2 separate regions of the Homo sapiens genome follow, and region 2 is linked to region 1. Evidence: promoter capture Hi-C in 16 types of primary human blood cells and fetal thymus (Javierre and others, 2016). All regions are on one chromosome and are shown on one strand. Each heading gives the region's core, a stretch centred on a gene start or on the middle of the fragment in contact. The rest is flanking DNA. Distances are from core to core; before and after follow the strand shown.

Region 1 (3,067 bases), core at 212-2,711:
CCACACAGCAGGCACTAGGAACAAAAGAAAACAAGACGGATCAGGGAATGCTGCCGTTCTCACCGGCCACGGCTGCAAATGCGACAGACATGTACCTGTCGCCTCAGTGGAGAGACTCGCTGGTGACCACAATGCGCAGATGCGGTCTTGTCAACCTAGCGCCTCCCTCTCTCCTCCAACACCCTGGAGAAGAGGCGTCCAGGACTTCCCATCCCTCTAAGCCTTCTCATAGCAAGTTATTTCACAGTGACCTTCTTTTACCAGTTCTCGATTTTATTTAGGACTCAAATTAACACCAACCAAACATATCACTAACTCACTTATTTTCACATTTTCAAAGTTGGATTGTGCTGCAAATCCATACATTTGTGCTCACTACACATTTTTTTTATTACATTCATTGAGAGGCTCCAAAGCATCAGTCCAATAAACATTTTTCCAGCCCGATAACCATCCTTCGTAAGAACTAAGAGGTAAAATCATTCACACAACTATTTTTTCCCTTCTATCCTTAGCTCATAAGCATTTGACCAAATGCCAATGTTTTTGCCAGTTCATGTTGTCCGTGCCTTATCACAAGTGACATGTCTACAGGACACGGTATCCACTGACTTTGCTTCCTTGGTCCCAAGAAAAGGTGTTGACAAATTCCATAGTTTGGTAAAATGAGTGAGTCTGCAATTGTGGGAGGCATTTTGTTTTTAGCAATGAATCACATTACATTGTACCTAACTTCTCAAGCACAATCTGATACTAAGATGATGAAGATAGTTCTTAAAAACTCTTTATACCAGATGATTTTTAAAAATCCACATACTTTTCTACCTAACATAGATGTTGTAGGGTGAAGAGCCTATGAGGCTTGTTTGGCACTCCTGCTTCATTTGATAATTTCTCCACGCAAACAAGACATTTAGGCTGAGAAAGAGAACCAGCAAGAATCTGGATGAGCTGGGCACAGCAGCTCACGCCTGTAATCCCAGAATTTAGGGAGGCAGAGGCGGGAGGATTGCTTGAGTCCAGGAGTTCAAGACTAGCCTGGGCAACACAGCAAGACTATGTTCTCCACAAAAAGGGAGGAAAAAAATCTATATGAACCCAAATTTGAGGCAGGTGCTGTATTGCCTAATTAGTGGCCATTTGGGTTTTTTTGACCAGTGGTTTTGTGAGTTTGATGATATTCTGGACTTAGTAAAAATGTGAGAAAGTAAACAACTGTAAAAATTAAATCGATTCCTGGACAGTGGGAAAAAAACGGGGCAATCTCGGCTGGGCGCGGTTGCTCACGCCTGTAATCCCAGCACTTTGGGAGGCCGAGGAGGGCAGATCACGAGGTCAGGAGATCAAGACCATCCTGGCTAACACGGTGAAACCCCATCTCTACTAAAAATATAAAAAAATTAGCCGGGTGTGGTAGCAGGTGCCTGTAGTCCCAGCTACTCAGGAGGCTGAGGCAGGAGAATGGCGTGAATCCGGGAGGCGGGGCTTGCGGTGAGCCGAGATCGCGCCACTGCACTCCAGCCTGGGCGACAGAGCGAGACTCTGTCTCAAAAAAAAAAAAAAAAAAAAAAGGGACAATCTCAATAGGCCTGTGGTTTAGTTAACAGCAATGCAACAATGCTTATTTCTTTGTTTTGATATTGACTTGGGGGAAGGTGAGGGTACATGGAAACCCTGTACCGTCTCTGCAACTCTTCTGCAAATCAAAAATTACTTCAAAATAAAAAGGTACACAACTAAATTACTAAATATAAACTACTCAAGGAGACTGCAAAGGCTTTATGGGTTCAGAAAGTGGATAAGAGAAATATGAAGGCCTCTGAAATCTTCAAAACGTTTTAAAACAAATTCCACTGAAAAACTCAAAAAATGAAGTATGCGGCTTACAAAAATAGAAAAATTAAAATACTTTAGTTCATTAAAACTCTGAAAAAATTCAAGTACAAATGACTTACTCTCATAAGTTCTTTTGCTTAAACTGATTTTCTGAAGCCCCAAAGGCATATAATCTGCTTTAATGAATTCATTTAATAAACTATTTTAAATTAGGTGCAATTGTTGTTTTAAAAATAAATGTTAAACATTTATTCAGCACAAAGTGGTCTATTCAAAAAAATTAAAAAATAGGCTAGGCGCGGTGGCTCACGCCTGTAATCCCAGCACTTTGGGAGGCTGAGGGGGGGGTGGATCACGAGGTCAGGAGTTCAAGACCAGCCTGACCAACACAGTGAAACCCTGCCTCTACTAAAAATACAAAAAAAATTTAGCTGGGCGTGGTGGCGTATGCCTGTAATCCCAGCTACTCAGGAGGCTGAGGCAGGAGAATCGCTTGAACCCAGGAGGCGGAGGTTGCAGTGAGCCAAGATCATGCCACTGCACTCCAGCCTGGGTGACTCTGTCCCAAAAAAAAAAAAAATCAAAAAATAATTCTTTGAATGTTTCTAAAAACAAATGATAATTTATTATGCAGTTTCAACAAATGTTGGCTTTTTTTTTTTTTAAACAAAGAATGGCTACTTCATAGGCAGAGCAGCCACTTTTGGCTAATTTTTAACATCCAAAGCTAATAAATAATCAAGAAGAAATAGAGAACATTAACAAAATAAATTATGTTCTATTTGGGAATACCTAATATCAGATACTAACAAGTACAGTGATAAGAATAAAAAAGATAATAATCACACATACCTTCTAGGTTAGTAGAAAAGTTAGGAAAAGATATTAAATTTAAAGAAACAATATTTTGCATGCACACAAAAAACAAAGAACTTCGCTCATGATGTGGAAATCATGACCCAGCAGCAATCCGTCTTCCTGGTCCAGATCACTGGAAGGCCCGGGTGGGGCCCCCTGGGGGCAGCCACGCAGAACCTGCTGGACTTAACTCGCCAGAAAAATCACCACCCAGTTCAGGAAGTTTGCAGAGGGAAACCTACAAATGGTCCACGGATATGACTTCCCTGCTCCTGGAGGGCTCCCTCTGGAAGAGGCTTGCAGCATTCCAGTCATAGAATGTGGGTGAGCACTACAGCGGGCAGCCTCCCACACCTGCTTGGCTGTAGGCCCA
Region 2 (3,102 bases), core at 259-2,758, 310 kb after region 1:
TCAGAAAAAAGAATGACAAAGTGACCAGCTCATGGTCACAAACCACTAAGAGGGGGAATAGGACACATCCAGAGGTGCGGGTGCAAAGCCCAGACTTACAACCTCAAGACTCTGGGACCCCAGGTGAGCCCCTTGGCTTCTCTGAGCCTCAGTTTCTTCATCTGTAAAATGGGGACAGTGAGTCCAACCTCATCTAGGAGGTGACCAGCACAGTGCCTGACCCAGCGGGTACTCAACTGGTCATTGGAAAGGGCAAGAGGAAAGGCCCTAGCATTTGGGGACCCCTCCCAGGAGTGCTGGAAGACCAAGGGCTGCTACCTGAACCTAACAGGAGACCCCACGGAGGGAACGGGAACGGCCAGCTGCCCACAGGATGCCGGGACCCCGGTGCCTGTCACCTTCCCTGTCCCTGCTGTCTGACCTCCTCTGTCCCCCTGGACCTGCTCAATGGTCTGGGGCCACACAGAGTGGGGTGCCAGGCCATGCCTCATAGAATGGGTGCGACCCTCCCCAAATTCTCCAAACGGCCTTGCCCGCTTGGGTGATGAGGGAAACGGAGCCTGAGTCGGGACTCAGACCCCCACTGATCTGCCTCTAGAATGCTGCAGGCCTGACGGGAGAGGGCCTGAGGCGCAGGGTGGCCCAAGCCTTCAGCCAGGAGCTCAGAGGGTCACAAGTCGGGGCCTCCAGCACCCAGGAAGCAGGACTCGCCTGCCTGGGCTGCAGGCTGGAGAGTGGGCAGACGTGGGCCGGGGGTCGGTTGGTGCCGGCGGGAGGTTCCAGCCCCTGTGGATGGAGATGGAGGCGACCCCCAGTCGGTGCGGGGAGTGGGGAGTTGAGCTCCCTCAGTGGGGGTGGTGGGGGCTACCTTGGGGTCAGGCTTCGGACTGAGGCTGGGGGAAGCTGTGGCGCCCGCATTATTTGCGGAGAGGAGCAGGAGGATGCTTGGGGGTTGGGGGTGCGGGTTCCCTGACACCGAATTCATTATTGGGAGATTCCTCTTCACAATCCCTCGACACCTCCCACGGGAACCCTGGGCCAGGAACGCCTGACAGCCTGGCGGGCCGGCTCCAGGGGCACTGGCGCCCGGGTCTCTCGGCGCCCGGTCCCCGCCCGCCCGCTGCCTCGGAACCGTCCCCCGCGGGTCCCGCAGCCTCTGGAAGCCTCTCTGGGCTCAGCCCCGCGCCGCCGCCGCGTCGGGGCTCCCAGTGCACCCCCGGCGGCCGCGTCCCCAGCCCGGCTAGCAGCCCCAGGCCGCCCGCGTCCGCAGAGGCCTGGCCTGAGCGCGCTGCGCGCACGTGGGGAGGGGGCGTCCCGGGGCGGGCGCGGGGAGGGCGGAGCCACGGGCCCGGGCGCGCGGCCGGCGCGGGCTGACGGAGGTCGGCGGCCCGGGAGCGGACCCCGGCGTCCGGGAGGCGGCGCCAGGTGCCGCGCCCCCGCCCCGCGCCCGCCGCGCGCCCCCGCCCCCGGGCCGCCCCCCGCCCGTGACGCGCTCCCCGCCCCCTCCGCGCCGGGAGCCCGAGCCCAAGCCGGAGCCCGAGGAGGGCGAAGGGGCGGCGGGCGGCGAGGAGGCGGCGGGGGAGGCGGCGGGGGAGGCGGCCGGTGCCGCGGGGCCGCCGCCGCCTCTGAGCCGCGCCGAGCTCACGAGCGCAGCCGCGTCGCTGCGGCCCCGGCCGCGCCATGGGGAAGGAGCAGGAGCTGGTGCAGGCGGTGAAGGCGGAGGACGTAGGGACCGCGCAGAGGCTGCTGCAGAGGCCGCGGCCCGGGAAGGCCAGTGAGTGCCGGGGGCGCGGGGCGCGGGTGGGAGCCCCGGGGGCCCCTCCCCGGCGCGGAGCCCCCCACCCGGCGCCGGGCGGGGAGGGGACGTTGTCGGGTCCCCGGGGGCGGGGCGGGGCCAGCAGCGCCCAGACCCTTGGTCCGTGCCCTCCACCCGCTGCCCCCAGCACTGGAGATGGGGCGGCCCCGAGAGCCGGCCGCCACCGTGAGCCCCGCAGCGGGCACCTGGCGGCACCCGCCTCCCGGGCCGCGGGCGTTCGCATCCCTCTCTCTCTACCTCTGTCCCCCTCCCTTCCCAGGCTGCGGGCTGACAGCTGGAGGTCTCTGCTGGGGCCTTCAAAGGGCGAGGCGGATGCCCCCCCCACCCACCACACGCACCGGGAAGACAGGGAGGGGGCCCCTGCGGCGAGGGGCGACCCGGGAGGTGACAGTCCCTAGCAGACCCCCTCCCGCCCCACGTTTAATAACACGCTTTGCAGGGAAGGTGGGGGCAGGACCACGCTGGGGGTGTGGCTGCCCTGGCATGGCCGGTGGGGTGCCATTTACTGATGGGAGAGCAGAGGCCCAAGGTCGCCCAGCCCAGGGCAGGCTGGACTCCAGGCAGGGCCGGCCTGGGCGCAAGGGCTTGGGGCCCTGCTCAGGCAGGCTCCAGCAGAGCCGGGTCTCCAGCTTCCCTGCTGGGAAAGGAGGCCATGAGGGAGTGGGGGACCACCACTGGCCATCCCCAGCTTGCCCTATGGCCGGCCCCAGGAAAGGGCTGGGAGCTTGGAGCCCTGGTCCCAGCACTCATCCTGGCTCAGCGCGTAGCCTCCCTGGGGGCCGCCGGAGATGGATGGATGGGCGTGTGGACCAGCCGCGTGTGCGGCTGCGCACGTATAGCCGTGTCAGTGTGTCAGGGCACCTGTGCGGGCACGGACAGGGCTCTGCAGGTCGGCACGTGGGGTCTGGGCGTCCTCCCTCCTCCCTCCACCCCCACAGACTGTAAGCCAGAGAGTCCCCCTCCCCTTCCTCCAGGGGGATGCCGAGAACTGGGACTGGCTTCTGGGAGATTGTTGGGGGCACCTAGGAGTCCCAGGAGGACCCCCTCCCCCGTACTTCACCAGCAGCCCATGACTGGCTAGCTCCTGTCCACTCTGTGCAGTAAGAGAGAGGGGGCACCGGTGCCTTGCAGGCTGGCCCCGAGCTGATTTCAGGTCCGGGGGCTCAGAAAGGGAGAGCTTGTGGGCAGAGGCAGCCTCAGCTGAGCCTGGAGAGCAGGTGTAGGGATTGAGGGAAGGCAAGGTAAAGGTTTCCACCTAGTGGCCGCATGACCTTGGACACAGACAA

The links. The method cuts DNA at HindIII sites, captures the fragments that hold promoters and counts their contacts. A CHiCAGO score of 5 or more calls a contact.
Region 2: a contact is called between the fragment with the promoter of CASKIN1 here and a fragment that was not itself captured in region 1, in 2 of 17 cell types (fetal thymus and erythroblasts). The highest score is 6.5, in fetal thymus.

The regions. Positions count from the first base shown.
Region 1 is chr16:2,502,919-2,505,985 of GRCh38, reverse strand. It overlaps TBC1D24 (TBC1 domain family member 24), which reads right to left. Exons shown (of 8, transcript NM_001199107.2): 8 at 256-3,067. Among named protein-coding and RNA genes, the nearest start is that of ATP6V0C, 9.5 kb to the left of the region's middle. The HindIII fragment of the contact is 5,616 bases long and covers 1-3,067 here.
Region 2 is chr16:2,195,011-2,198,112 of GRCh38, reverse strand. CASKIN1 (CASK interacting protein 1) reads left to right here and starts at 1,508. Exons shown (of 20, transcript NM_020764.4): 1 at 1,508-1,774. The coding sequence starts at 1,681. The HindIII fragment of the contact is 37,961 bases long and covers 1-3,102 here.